Regions from separate parts of the Homo sapiens genome. Here regions 1 and 2 are each linked to region 3. Evidence: promoter capture Hi-C in 16 types of primary human blood cells and fetal thymus (Javierre and others, 2016). All regions are on one chromosome and are shown on one strand. Each heading gives the region's core, a stretch centred on a gene start or on the middle of the fragment in contact. The rest is flanking DNA. Distances are from core to core; before and after follow the strand shown. Region 1 holds the start of ZBTB45 (zinc finger and BTB domain containing 45). Region 2 holds the start of VRK3 (VRK serine/threonine kinase 3). Region 3 holds the start of TPGS1 (tubulin polyglutamylase complex subunit 1).

Evidence for each region. The method cuts DNA at HindIII sites, captures the fragments that hold promoters and counts their contacts. A CHiCAGO score of 5 or more calls a contact.
Region 1: a contact is called between the fragment with the promoter of ZBTB45 here and the fragment with the promoter of TPGS1 in region 3, in 1 of 17 cell types (M0 macrophages). The highest score is 8.7, in M0 macrophages.
Region 2: the fragment with the promoter of VRK3 here is called in contact with the fragment with the promoter of TPGS1 in region 3 in 1 of 17 cell types (naive CD4 T cells); the score reaches 7.1 in naive CD4 T cells.

What each region holds. Positions count from the first base shown.
Region 1 is chr19:58,518,141-58,522,759 of GRCh38, forward strand. ZBTB45 (zinc finger and BTB domain containing 45) reads right to left here and starts at 1,670. Exons shown (of 3, transcript NM_001316979.2): 1 at 1,602-1,670. RefSeq lists enhancers at 1-577, 1,635-1,954 and a silencer at 1,445-1,544. The HindIII fragment of the contact is 4,202 bases long and covers 1-3,609 here.
Region 2 is chr19:50,022,752-50,027,150 of GRCh38, forward strand. It overlaps VRK3 (VRK serine/threonine kinase 3), which reads right to left and starts at 2,621. Exons shown (of 15, transcript NM_016440.4): 1 at 2,516-2,621. ZNF473 (zinc finger protein 473) reads left to right here and starts at 3,254. Exons shown (of 5, transcript NM_015428.4): 1 at 3,254-3,371. RefSeq lists enhancers at 1,927-2,428, 2,478-2,557, 2,898-2,947, 3,358-3,407. The HindIII fragment of the contact is 2,425 bases long and covers 834-3,258 here.
Region 3 is chr19:504,447-509,029 of GRCh38, forward strand. TPGS1 (tubulin polyglutamylase complex subunit 1) reads left to right here and starts at 3,051. Exons shown (of 2, transcript NM_033513.3): 1 at 3,051-3,398. The coding sequence starts at 3,061. It overlaps MADCAM1-AS1 (MADCAM1 antisense RNA 1), which reads right to left and starts at 3,443. Exons shown (of 3, transcript XR_936221.4): 1 at 2,930-3,443. It overlaps MADCAM1 (mucosal vascular addressin cell adhesion molecule 1), which reads left to right. Exons shown (of 5, transcript NM_130760.3): 5 at 299-897. The coding sequence ends at 519. RefSeq lists enhancers at 2,127-2,984, 2,857-3,196 and a silencer at 2,197-2,326. The HindIII fragment of the contact is 8,539 bases long and covers 2,172-4,583 here.

The DNA of each region.
Region 1 (4,619 bases), core at 420-2,919, about 58 Mb after region 3:
CTCTACCCAGCTAGCTTCCACTCCTCCTCCACCCCTGCTGACAGCTCCTTTTGGTTTCCTTTAGCCACATCCCCCCAGTATGAGACCCTGTGCATAGGCAGGATTGCTGCCTCAGAACCAGGTCACCTTAACTAGTATATACAGAGGCTCTCGCAGGAGTGGGGTGGCATGACCTGCTTCCTGGGCAGGGTGGTTCTGGGTGTGCCTAGTCACTAAGGGCTGAGGGTAAAAGGTTGGGCAGTACCTTGGGAGATGCCCCAGGGAAACCAGTACATGCTCCCTGGCAGCCCCTAGCATAGCGAGCAGGGAGGTGGCTCCTGCAGCCCCAGCTTCTTGCCATCTCGATGGGGCCTGTGGGGCCCAGGGTGTGGGTGTGGCACAGAGAGGGGAAGTGTGGATTGAGCAGGGGTGTGTGACTGGATAGCTGCCCATGGAGTAATCGGGGACACGGCCCAACATCAGGCACCAGAAAGGGGAGGGGGTAGTCCTCAGAGGACTCTGGAATCTGAGGAGTTCTGCTACTCCATCCATCAAGCAGGTAAACCGTGATCCTTCGGCCTGTTTCCCCTTCTATCAAACAAGGGATGAGATACTCGGCTCATCCCGCACCCAGACTGCACACACCTCCAGTCTAAGGGAGGAGGGTAGGAGCTCTGGACTCTGACATCCGTATAGGCTCCACCAGCCTGTCTCTCCCTTGGAGTCACAAAGCCCCAGGGTGGGCTCGGCTTGATGCTGCCCCTACACCCTCGGGCTCTACTGGGGTCTCAAGATTCAACCCCTCCGACTCCTTATGCCCAATCCGCCGTCCCTTTGCTCAGCCAGACGCCTCCCTTTTTTGCATGCCCCACATTTGACCCTCAGACCACTTCGAGCACCTCCACTGCCCCGTTCCCGCTGTCCTGGACGGATGAAGAAACCTGGCTGGTGTCTCTGCGCCCCTCGCCTCCCCTTCTGTTCCCCACACGGCAGCCAGAGGGAGCTTTTCCAGACTACGGATCCGGATACACCACCCCGCTCCCTGGCCCTGTTCTGAGCCTTCTGTGCAATGCCTCAAAAAAGCCAGGCCTGTGCCCGCGCAAAGGCTAACTCAGCAAGCAGCACCGCCCCATCTGTATTCACCTAGCACCTGAAAGGATTCTAATCTGTCCGGCCGATGGGGACGGAAACTTGCGCATCAACCCGAGAGACTTGAACCTTCCTTTCCCGCCCCGCCCCGCGACGGGCTCCATTCCTCAGTCCCGACGCCGCAAGGCCGGCCTGGACACTTCAGAACAAAGGCCTGCACTCGAGACCCGGCGCCCAGGCCAGCTTCCCGGGTCCGGCGCCGCACACTCCCGCCACGCCTTCGCCGCGCCGTGTGCTTTACTCCGAGCGCGTTCTCCCATACTCTGCTCCATTGCCCGCGCCCCACCCTACGCCCAAAGCACCCCTCTGACCCGCCGCTGCCACCCCGCACTCTGGCCCCCGCCGTACCCCGGTCCTGCAGCGCCCCCTCGCGTTCTCAGCGTGCGCTTCTAGCGGAGCGCAGGTGCCCCTCCCCTGGCACGCCCCAGCCTCCTCGCCCGCCCTGCGGCAGGGGGATGCCCATTCGACCCCACCTCCGACTCCTCTTCAGGCACCAGGCTCTGCCGTGGCCGCTTCCTCCTGACCGACTACAAGGCCGCACTTCCGGGCCGTTACCCCGGCGGAACGGAGGCCTGCGGTCGCGGCGGCGCAGGGGAAACCCTAGGCCGAAGCACGTTTCCGGTATTTTTATGGCGATCAGCTCCCGCCAGTCTGCACTCCGGCTCTCCTCTTAGTCGGAACCAAAGTCGAAGAGGCTAGGGCTGCCGCGTCGCGAGGAATGTCTGGACCAGAGCACTCTTCCGGCGTCGCCCAGGAGATCAGGGGTGTGGCGGGCCTGCGCGATCAATCCGCAAGCTCCCTGTGATGCAGAATGGGAAGGCAGTTCCCGGCCCAAGTGCCCAACGTGTTCTGGCCAGTTTAAACCCCACTGCGAACCGGGGAAGTGGCCTTATTCCTGTGACACGGGTGAGAGCTGAAGTAGGTCTCGGTCCCTGGCCGCCAGGAGGTGCAAGCAAGCTACCACTACTGCAGACGCTCCAGGCCCGCCCGCTGTGGGTGGGACTGGGGAAAGGACCCCATCTCGGCCTTGGCACCTTCTACTACAACGCAGACAGGAATAGACAACTGCCTCACCCTGCTCTGGGCCTCCCCTGAGCTAGACCCTGTGAGATTCTGGGACATTGCAAGTCAATCTGGTATGGGGGACAGAATTCCGAAAATGGCCCCCTCCGAGATTTCCGTGCCCAAATCCCCAGAACCTGTAAATATGATTATCTCACCTATGAATAGTTACACTACATGGTGAAAGGGTTTTTGCGGAAATAATTAAGGTTACTCATTAGCTGATCTTAAAATAGGATATGATTCTGGATTATTTTGGTAGGTCCAAGGTATCATAAGGGTCCTTAAAGGCAGAAGAGGAAGGTGGAGAAACTTGAAGTAGGAGAAGGGTTCCAGAGGCTTTGAAGGTAGAGAGGTCCATGAGAGGAAATGCAACAGGACAGGTGTCATGCTGAGAATCTGAGAAGAGCTGCAACAACAGCCAGCAAGAAAACAGACCTCATGGCCCGGCGCAGTGGCTCATGCCTGTAATCCCAGCACTTTGGGAGGCCAAGGCGGGTGGATCACGTCAGGAGATCGAGACCATCCTGACTAACACAGTGAAACCCCATCTCTACTAAAAATACAGAAAATTAGCTGGGCGTGGTGGCAGGCGCCTGTAGTCCCAGCTACTCGGGAGACTGAGGCAGGAGACTGGCATGAACCCGGGAGGCGGAGCTTGAAGTGAGCTGAGATCGCGCCACTGCACTCCAGCCTGGGCGACAGAACGAGACTCCGTCTCAAAAAAAAAAAAAAAAAAAAAAAAAAAAAAAGGCCGGGCGCGGTGGCTCACGCCTGTAATCCCAGCACTGTGGGAGGCCGAGGCGGGCGGATCATGAGGTCAGGAGATCGAGACCATCCTGGCTAACACGGTGAAACCCCGTCTCTACTAAAAATACAAAAAAAAATTAGCCGAGCGCGGTGGCAGGCGCCTGTAGTCCCAGCTACTCAGGAGGCTGAGGCAGGAGAATGGCGTGAACCCGGGAGGCGGAGCTTGCAGTGAGCCAAGATAGCGCCACTGCAGTCGGGCCTGGGCGAAAGAGCGACACTCAGTCTCAAAAAAAAAAAAAAAAAAGAAAGAAAGAAAAGAAAACAGACCTTAGCCCTAGAAGTGCGTGGAGCTAGATTCCGCCCACAACCTGAATGAGCTTGGAAGCAAATTCTTCCCCAGAGCCTCCAGATAGCAGCTTAGTCCATACCACACCTTGATTTTAGCCTTTATGAGACCCACAGAAGACCTACTTGGGCTTCTGACCTATGGAATGGTGAGCTAATAAATGGATATTGTTTTAACCTATGGAGTTTTGGTAATTTGTTATAGTAACGATAGAAAACAAATACATCTGGTGAGATCCAGGGCCTCCACACAGTGAGAGTCCAATAAATGCCACTATTTGTTTCCCATCTGATGAACGCATTCCTCACATTTCCCTCACTGAAAGCTTTATTTCTGTGCCTTCCCAGCTTTTACCAGGCCCCTTCGTGATCTCATTCCTCAGGGAGCAGTTCTCACTTCCCCTATCCCAGAGGACAGAGGGACTCGGCAGTGAAAGAGGGAACCAACTGTCCAAACGCATGACTAGAACAAAGCCTCCAGAAGACAGACAGGGTCAGGATGCCTGTCCTTCACCCAGGACAGCTACTGGGTGATTGTGTTGTAGATGTGGTATTTGGAGGTCAGGGGGAGGAAAATATGTACCAGGTGGGAAACCTCATTAAAACACAAGTCTAGGCTGGGCACAGTGGCTCACACCTGTAATCCCAGCACTTTGGGAGGCCGAGGCGGGTGGATCACCTGATGTCAGGAGTTTGAGACCAGCCTGGACAACATGGTGAAACCCCGTCTCTACTTTTTTTTTTTTTTTTTCTGAGACAAAGTCTCGCTCTTGTCCCCCAGGCTGGAGCGCAATGGCGCGATCTTGGCTCACTGCAACCTCCGCCTCACAGGTTCAAGCGATTCTCCTGCCTCAGCCTCCTGAGTAGCTGAGATTACAGGCACCTACCACCATGCCCCACTAATTTTTGTATTTTTAGTAGAGACGGTGTTTCACCATGTTCACCAGGCTGGTCTCAAACTCCTGACCTCAGGTGATCTGCCTGCCTCGGCCTCCTAAAGTGCTGGGATTACAGGCATGAGCCACTGTGCCCGGCCTGTCCCTACTAAAAATACAAAACATTAGCTGGGCGTGGTGGCGGGTGCCCATAATCCCAGCTACTTGGGAGGCGGAGGCAGGAGAATCGCTTGAACCCGGGAGGCAGAGGTTATAGTGAGCTGAGATCGTACCATTGCACTCCAGCCTGGGCAACAAGAGTGAAAATCCGTCTCAGAACAAAAAAACAACAAAAAACACACAAGTCTAATAACCTGCCATCATCGTCTTTGTTCAGACTCAAACCATGGCCTGCTGGACCCACTGGGTCTGCTTTCACTGGGCTGAGTTTTGGGAAGA
Region 2 (4,399 bases), core at 1,371-3,870, about 50 Mb after region 3:
CCGCTGCACTCCAGCCTGGGCAACAGAGCAAGACTCAGTCTCATAAATAAACAAATAAATAAATAAAATGTAAGTCAGACCCTGTCCCTCCTCTACTCAAAACCGTATGGTGGATTTCATTTTAGACAGAATAAATGCTGAAATTCCTACCATGGCCCAGGAGCCCCCTGTATGATCTGCCACTTCCCTGTTCCCTCTCTGACCTCTCCCACCTCTCCCCTTGCTCACGCTGAGTCAGCCACAACAGCTTCGGTGCTTTTCCCCAATCGTGACAAGAACGTTTCTTCCCCAAGACCTTTGCACCTGCTCTCCCATCTGCCTGGAACGCTGTCCCCCTAAGAGTGCACACAGTTAACTTCCTCATCACATTCTTTAGCTCTCTGTTCAAATGTCACCTTCTCAGAGACCTTCTTGGACACGATTTTACTGTGTTTTTTCTTTTCTTTTTTTTGAGATGGAGTTTGGCTCTTTTCGCCCAGGCTGGAGTGCAATGGCACGATCTCGGCTTACTGCAAACTCTGCCTCCCGAGTTCAAGTGATTCTCCTGCCTCAGCCTCCCATGTAGTTGGGATTACAGATGCGTGTCACCACGCCTGGCTAATTTTATATTTTTAGTAGAGATGGGGTTTCACCATGTTGGCCAGGCTGGTCTTAAACTCCTGACCTCAGGTGATCCCCCTCAGCCTCCCAAAGTCCTGGGATTACAGGCTCGAGCCACCGTGCCTGGCCCTGGACACCATTTTACTAATAGCATGTTTTATCCTCCTTACCTTGCTTTATTTTTCTTCACAGTGCTTGTCACTACCTGACATACTCTGACTTACTAGAATGTAAGCTTCATGATGGCGGGGACTTTTCCCTGCCTTGTTTGCCACAGTGTGCCCAGAGCCTCAAACAGGCCTGGCACAGAGCAAATGCTGGGTCTACGTCTGCTGAGTGAATAAATCATTGTCTCCTTTGCAAAAGAAAATGTGCCAAGAAGGTGGGTGGGGGGGGTCCCCAGCTGTGTCAGTACACATTCATCTCTCAGGCAAATCTAGACATCCAGCCAGAGACTCAAAGCTCAGGGCCGGAATTATCTAGCTGGATGGTCCCTAAAAAAGACGTGCCACTTAGAAGCAGATCAGTACAGGGGTTAAGAGGATAAACTTGGGAAATAATCTGCCTGGGTTTGGATCTTGCTTCTGCCATGTATTGCATGATGGACAGAGTTTTGCTATGTCACCCAGGTTGGAGAGCAGTGGCACGACCTCAGCTCACTTGCAACCTCCGCTTCCTGGGTTCAAGCGATTCTCCCTGCCTCAACCTCCCGAGTAGCTGGGATTACAGGCGCATGCCACCATGCCCGGCTAATTTTTTTATTTTTAGTAGAGATGGGGTTTCACCATGTTGGCCAGGCTGGTCTCGAACTCCTGAACCCAGGTGATCCGCCCACCTCGGTCTCCTAAAGTGCTGGGACTACAGGCGGGAGCCACCGTGCCCAGCCAAATTTTTTGGATTTTAGAACCTATTACATATTACAACACCGGCGAGATCCAGGGGCAACTCTCCATAAGTATATGATTTGCACAACAAAATCTTTAAAAATTCTAAATAGTCACACATCAGTTCAGAGTGGGTATTGCCAGCAAACAAGTTCAAAGCCAGGTGAGGTTGGCCTGCCAAGTAAGTTGCAAAACAGAGAAAAAGACCTTTCAGTTTTCAGAACGTTTTGGATTTTAAAGTTATAGATAAGGGACTGCAGACCTGTAAATATTCTTTAACATTTCTTTTTTAGTGTCTGGCATCCCCAACCACCCTGAGAATGTGAATTAGCTGGGCAGGATTTTTGTTTTAGACACTGCTATAATAACCTGGGCTTGAACAGTGCCTATTAGACTAGCACCGTTCAAACCCAGGTTATAGTAGTGTAATATCGGTTGCACGGAGCCTTCCATATAGTAAACGCTCAATAAAATTGGATGTGCTGAAGTCACCTATGCAATGGCCAGGTCAGGACTTGAAACCCTAAGACTCCAACCCTCAGGCCAGTCTTTATCTTAATTTATTTGACTTATTCAACAAATGTTTAGGGAACAGCTGCTATGCGTCAACTACTGTATAGTGTTCCTCCTAGAAAGTTCAGGAAACAGCACAGCAAAAAGGCTAAAAGTCAGACCCCACCTCAGCGCAGGTGGGGCGATTGCCTAGGCGACGACAGAGCCTCCCTTCGGCCGCACCTCCATAGAAACCACGGGATGACTTAGACGCCAAGTTTCACAGCGGAGGAGCTGTCGAACTTCCCACAAGTTCCGCCCATCTCCGCCTTAGCCATGCCCAACACGGAGCCCAAGGTGGCTTGGGAAGCTCAAGAGGAGGCCAGTGAACCCCGCGACCCGGAGCCGCTCTCATTCCGAACCCCGACAGCAGGGGCCTCCGCCTCCCACAAACGGTCGTGCTGACGTCACGGACGCCCCGGCCGAGCTGCGGCTAGGGGGTCGGGGGACGTCCCCTCGTTCGCCTCGCTTCCCCTCACCTCTGTACTTGGGGACTGGGGTGGGATTCTGGGCTTCTGCAGCCTGACCCTCGGATCCTCCGCAGTTACCCGGACTCACCTTCTCAGTTGCCCAGCGAAAACTTCCGCTGGGCGGAGAGCGCTGCGCGCGCATCCTGAATCTGAGGCGCCCGCGCAGGCGCCGCTGACTTCCTGACGGCCCCTGGGCTTCGCCTGCCTGGGAACTCCGTTTCCCAGATGCCTCCGCGGCAGGCCCGCCCTCTGATTCCAGACGGAATGGGGATTATTCCCTCATTGCTCATCCCCCTCCCCTCCGTTCTAGCCGCTTTGGAACGCCTTCTGGTTCTACTGCGCATGTGTCAGTGTCAGACCAATCGGAATGCACCGTGAGGTACCTCTCCACCAATCAGAGGTCACATTACCTAAACTTCTGCCTCAACTCCGCCCCTTACTTCCGCTTGTTTTCTCAGAAACCCGTCACAACGCGTTTCCATGGCAACCTACCGCTTGCTCTTCGGAAAAGGTTAACACTCCCTGACTTCTAGTAAAGGCAAGAAGCTAATTAGATGATTCTTTAACAAGGTAAAAATCTGGACTACAAACTGATGCCGCCTGGTCCTGATTCTCTTTCTACTCTACTCCCACAGTGCTAAGGCTGAAGAAGCAGGAGGAGATGGGAAGGCGAAAGAAGTCGCCCGCACAGCCCTCTGGGAAATAGAGTCCTGGCGCTGCCGCGGAGGATCCTGGGTGCAGCCGCTCAGAGAAGCTTCTCGCGCACAGGAAGTCGCTGCGAGGAGGCGCGTGTGCGGGGAGTTGAATCTCCCGCTCCCTTGAGGCTGGGGTTGCGTCTGTTGACGCGGCCGACTACAATCCCGAGGTACGGAGACGCTGGGGCTGAGGGACTTGCGGGCTCGGTCCTTCCTGAGAGGTGACGGAATGCAAGTGGGGGCGACTTCGGCAAAGGGTGCGTCGCCTTGGGCGGCGGTTGTCAGGGTGAAGGTGTGAACCGTCTTTCACAGTCTGTTATGAAAACCGCTCAAGGTCTGGGCACGGTAGATCACGCCTGTAATCCCAGCACTTTGGGAAGCCTTGGCGGGGGGGATCACTTACAGCCAGGAGTTCCTCGAACCCCCAGTCTCTACTAAAAATACAAAAATTAGTTGAGCGTGGTGGCGGGGGCCTGTAATCCCAGCTACTCAGGAGGCTGAGGCAGGAGAATCGCTTGAACCCAGGAGCTGGAGGTTGCAGTGAGCCGAGATCGCGCCATTGCACTCCAGCCTGGGTGACAGAGCGAGACTACATCTTAAAAAAAAAAAAAAAAAAAGAAAGGAAGAAAACCACCTTGGGAGGCTGAGGTGGGCGGATCGCTTGAGCCCAGGATTTCGAGGCTAGCCTGGGCCAGATGGTGAAGCCCTGTCTCCACAAAAGAAGAAAAAAATAGAAAAATTAGCCGGGCGTGGTGGTGCGCCCCTGTATTCCTAGCTAATTGGGAGGCCGAGGTGGGAGGATTGCTTGAACCCAGGAGGCAGAGGTTGCAGTGAGCTGAGAAAGAAAAGAAAAGAAAAGAAAACTGCTAAAGGGGTTTCCAGGCCTCCCTGATGGCCCTGAGAGGAGTGGTTCTGTTTTATTTTGGTTTTGGTTGGGGAAGGAGGGGAATGAGTTACCTGAAGTTGGCAAATTTAGGCAGAATCTTGCTGGACGATGGATGGGAGTTCTTCGGGAAGTTGAAGTACTTAACATTTACAGTATTTGAGTGCTTTCTGTGTGCCAGGCGCCCTGCTGGAGTTGCATTTCCTCTTCTGATCCCCGCAGCAGCACTGAGACATAAGTGCAGGTCCCCTTGGCACCAAGGCAATCTCGGGAATCAGAATTTTTCAGATTTTAGAAAGCTAATAGGGTGCATAT
Region 3 (4,583 bases), core at 1,801-4,300:
GGCACAGGGTTTCACCATGGTCAGGCTGGTCTCGAACTCCTGACCTCGTGATCCACCCGCTTTGGCCTCCCGAAGTGCTGGGATTTCAGGCGTGAGCCACCCCGCCTGGCCTGGACTGCCCATTTCTAAACTCTAAGGTGCTATGCGCATTTCAAAAGGGTCATGGTAAAGTCCTTTGTGAAATTTCAGGGAACGTGGTAACTTTGGAAGCACGTGTAGCCTCTGAGGGGCTCCTCCCTTCCCAAGCCTGCAGAGGCCTGGAGGGCTCTGACCGGGGTCTCCTGCACTCTCTCCCCAGCGTCCAAACCTGCGGGTGACCAGCTGCCCGCGGCTCTGTGGACCAGCAGTGCGGTGCTGGGACTGCTGCTCCTGGCCTTGCCCACCTATCACCTCTGGAAACGCTGCCGGCACCTGGCTGAGGACGACACCCACCCACCAGCTTCTCTGAGGCTTCTGCCCCAGGTGTCGGCCTGGGCTGGGTTAAGGGGGACCGGCCAGGTCGGGATCAGCCCCTCCTGAGTGGCCAGCCTTTCCCCCTGTGAAAGCAAAATAGCTTGGACCCCTTCAAGTTGAGAACTGGTCAGGGCAAACCTGCCTCCCATTCTACTCAAAGTCATCCCTCTGTTCACAGAGATGGATGCATGTTCTGATTGCCTCTTTGGAGAAGCTCATCAGAAACTCAAAAGAAGGCCACTGTTTGTCTCACCTACCCATGACCTGAAGCCCCTCCCTGAGTGGTCCCCACCTTTCTGGACGGAACCACGTACTTTTTACATACATTGATTCATGTCTCACGTCTCCCTAAAAATGCGTAAGACCAAGCTGTGCCCTGACCACCCTGGGCCCCTGTCGTCAGGACCTCCTGAGGCTTTGGCAAATAAACCTCCTAAAATGATACAAACGTGTCAGTTTTCTCAGTTGACACCCACTCCGTGGAGAGGAGAGGTCTGAGGGCTCCGGACAGCAGAGGGTTGACTGTGGGTCCTGCCCTGATGGCTCCATCTCCCTCATCCCACAGTCCGGGGCTGGAGAAGAAAGTGTTAGAAATGCTTGTTCCCCGGTGCCGTAAAGAAATAGCACTTGAATATAAATGTCATTTCCTCAGCAAGGCCACTGTTTTACTTTCTGCAGAAAGGGTACACTGGCCAGCAGTTTTGCCACGAGAGTATCCAGAACAAAGGAGACAGGGTCATTTATAACCTGACGCGTCCACCCTACTGCTCTGTCCGGTTTCCATTGGCTGGAACGGGACGGTTTCCATTGGCTGGAACGGGACCTCACATTCTGTATTTATCCCGATCGGCTAGCAGCTTGGAACTTTTAAAAAGAGGCAAAGGCAGAGGAGAACAAAGGAAGGAAGAAGTAGCTTGTGGAATGCTAAGAAAGGTAAAAACACCTTCAAATAAGGAAGAGGAACAGGTTATGACCTAATGCTTGCTTGGACCAGTATAAGCATGCCAGGGCAGATATTTAGCCTACATTGTGGGCACTAAGAACATAAAGTATGTTGATTTCCTTATTACATTATATATATTCAATATAACATTAACAATTAATTAACAAAGAATGTTAGCACAGGTCTTTTGTTTGTTTGTTTTTTGAGACAGAGTCTCGCTCTGTCGCCCAGGCTGGAGTGCAGTGGCGCGATCTCGGCTCACTTGCAAGCTCCGCCTCCCGGGTTCACGCCATTCTCCTGCCTCAGCCTCCCGAGTAGCTGGGACTACAGGCGCCCGCCACCACGCCTGGCTAATTTTTTGTATTTTTAGTAGAGACGGGGTTTCACCGTGTTAGCCGGGATGGTCTCGATCTCCTGACCTCGTGATCCGCCCGCCTCGGCCTCCCAAAGTGCTGGGATGACAGGCGTGAGCCACCGCGCCCGGCCTACCACAGGCCTTTGAATACATTTTGCTTCTAAGAGAAGTTACTATTTATTCCTAATTAGATGGGGAGGAAAGTCTCATTTGAAGAGGAACCTCTACTTCACGTTTTACAAAGGGCATTTGGTCTGCCCGCCAGAGATTCCTGTGCTGGGAGGATGGTGGAACGGTCCCCCGGCAAACAGCTCTCATTGCCCCCTGCCCGGGGCAACGCCCCTGAGGGACGGGGACGGCACCCAGCAAGCTCTGCCCGGGGCGGGGAAACGCGAGGGCTTAGTGGTTTCCTCGGTGAGAAGCTTAACCAGGAGTCCCCGAAAGCAGTGAGGGAAGATCCACAGAGGTCGCCTGGGGAAACACACCCAGAGGCGGCTTATGGAGGAGACTGCTTGTGTTTTGAGGTGGCTGCGGGCTGCGGAGGGTTGGGAGGGCCGGGAGGGCGGCCGGAAGCGAGGTCAGGCGATGAAGGCCTGGAGGTGCCAGCCCGGGGGCCCTGGAGAGCCATGGCAGAGTTTACAGCTCTGGAGGCTGCGGTGTCAGAAAGCTCCCTCTGGCGGTCAGGGGGTAACAGCGCGGGATGCTCGCCCGTGTGGCCGCCAATAGGGGCTCAGCGCAGCTGCAGCGGAGCTGGGGAGGGGGCTTCTCCCACGAGGTGAGCTACGCACTCAGACGTTGACTGAGTTAGGCGGAAGGCCAGGCTGAGCTCGACCCCCAGCACCAAGGCTCAGAGATGAACATGAGAAAAGGGTCTGGGGGCCGGGCGCGGGGCTGGGTCCAGCAGTCCTGGGCAGGTCCAGCCCCGCGCATGCTCCGTCAGGCTTCTCTGCTAACCAGGGAGACTGGTTGCTAGGAGACCATGCTAATGAAGGACTCGCTCACTACCCAAATGGCAAGCAATCCGGCTTTGTGCCAGAAACGAAGCACTTCCGAGGCAGCCATTTTGGAGTCTGGCAAAATTCAGGACCGAGGCCAAAGCCAGGAGAGCCAATCAATATACACAAAGAGGGAGGAGAAGAGAGAGTGCCAATAAGGACACAAGGAAAGTGGTAGCGTACCCTTGTCACTTCCCAAAGTCTCCCAGCGGGATACCGGTGCCCTCTGCCCTTAATCAAGATGGCCGCCTTGGGGGGGCTCTAGCGCACAGTGGAATATGGCGGTGCTTCCGGTCCCGCTGCCCTCAGCGAAGATGGCGGCAGTGGAGAAGCGGCGGCAAGCGGTACCACCGCCGGCCGGTTTCACGGACAGCGGCCGCCAGTCGGTATCCCGGGCGGCGGGGGCGGCCGAGAGCGAGGAGGACTTCCTGCGGCAGGTCGGCGTGACGGAAATGCTACGTGCGGCCCTGCTGAAGGTGCTGGAGGCGCGGCCCGAGGAGCCGATCGCCTTCCTGGCTCACTACTTCGAGAACATGGGCCTGCGCTCGCCTGTAAACGGCGGCGCCGGGGAGCCCCCGGGCCAGCTCCTGCTGCAGCAGCAGCGCCTGGGCCGCGCGCTATGGCACCTTCGCCTGGCCCACCACTCCCAGAGGTGCGCAGTGGGCCGGCTTGGGCGGGTGGGGCAGCGATGGACTTCAACTCCCAGCATGCCGCGCGCGGCTCCCTACCCGCAGCGCCGGCGCAGGGGCCCGGGGCTTGCTGGGAGTTGTAGTGCGCGATGCCTTCTTGGGTGGGATGGATCGGACAAGGTGGGCTGGAGGGTCCGGGCTTCGGTCCGGCGCTAGGCAGCGCGCTGCATGCGGCGCGAGTCCTTCTGGCCGGCTTCGCCTTCTGTGATGCCTTTTTGCAGGTGCTGAGTTTCCCCTTGCAGTTCATGATTTTCAAAATCGTGCAGCTCAAGAGGACTTGGCCCGAGGTCGCAGAGCCAGCCCCCGAGCCAGGTCCTCCTAGTCGCCTCCTTAGCAGCCTCATGTTATCCCCGTCCATTCAGCCAGAACGTGAATATTTACAGAGAGCAGCGCAGTCACCCAGGGCCCCCATCTTAGGGGACAGGCTCCCAGCGGGCAGGTGGGGATTCCTGGAAGAGCCTGGCGATGTGCGGGCGGGTTGCAGGGAAGAGGCCCAGCAGGTGCAAATTTAGACCCCGAGTGTGGGGCACACGGGAGGCGGGAAAGCCACGGAATTTGGCTGAAGCATGCGAGGCTGCAGGTGCCTACGCGCGGTGTCCCCTGGCTGGGGCCAGTTCTGAGCCCAGGGAAGGTGGTTGGGGACTATCTGTTGGCGTTGGGGATGGATGGGCTGATGTCTTTTGTTGGGGGGGGGGTCCCCAGAAGCGGAGCCTGAGGTAGGCATTGTGTGTGCAGGTGATTTTACAAGGGGGTGCGCCCAAGAGAACCCAGGAAGGGGGTGGGAAGAGCAGGCAGGGAAGGATGCCAAGCAAAGGTGCCCTTTCAGCCTCATAACCAGGGCATAAGCGCCCACCATGGCAGCCCTCGCCAGAGTCCCAGAGAAGTTCGGGGGGAGAAGAGAGATGGGGAGTGTCCCCCCTACCACGTTCAGGGTGCACAGGTGTCCAAGATCATACTCAGATAAGGGTGGCAGGGTGTTGGGTACCTGGACAAGGAGCAGACTTGCTCCGGTGGCCCAGTGGCTCTGAAGGCCCCGCCCGATGATTTGCTGGAGCCAGGTGGGAGGGGAGCGGGCAAGGGCAGGCCCAGAGGGTCAGTGGAGCCGTTTACTGCGATGGAAGGCCCCTGGTTTGAAGAAGCTGCCAGAG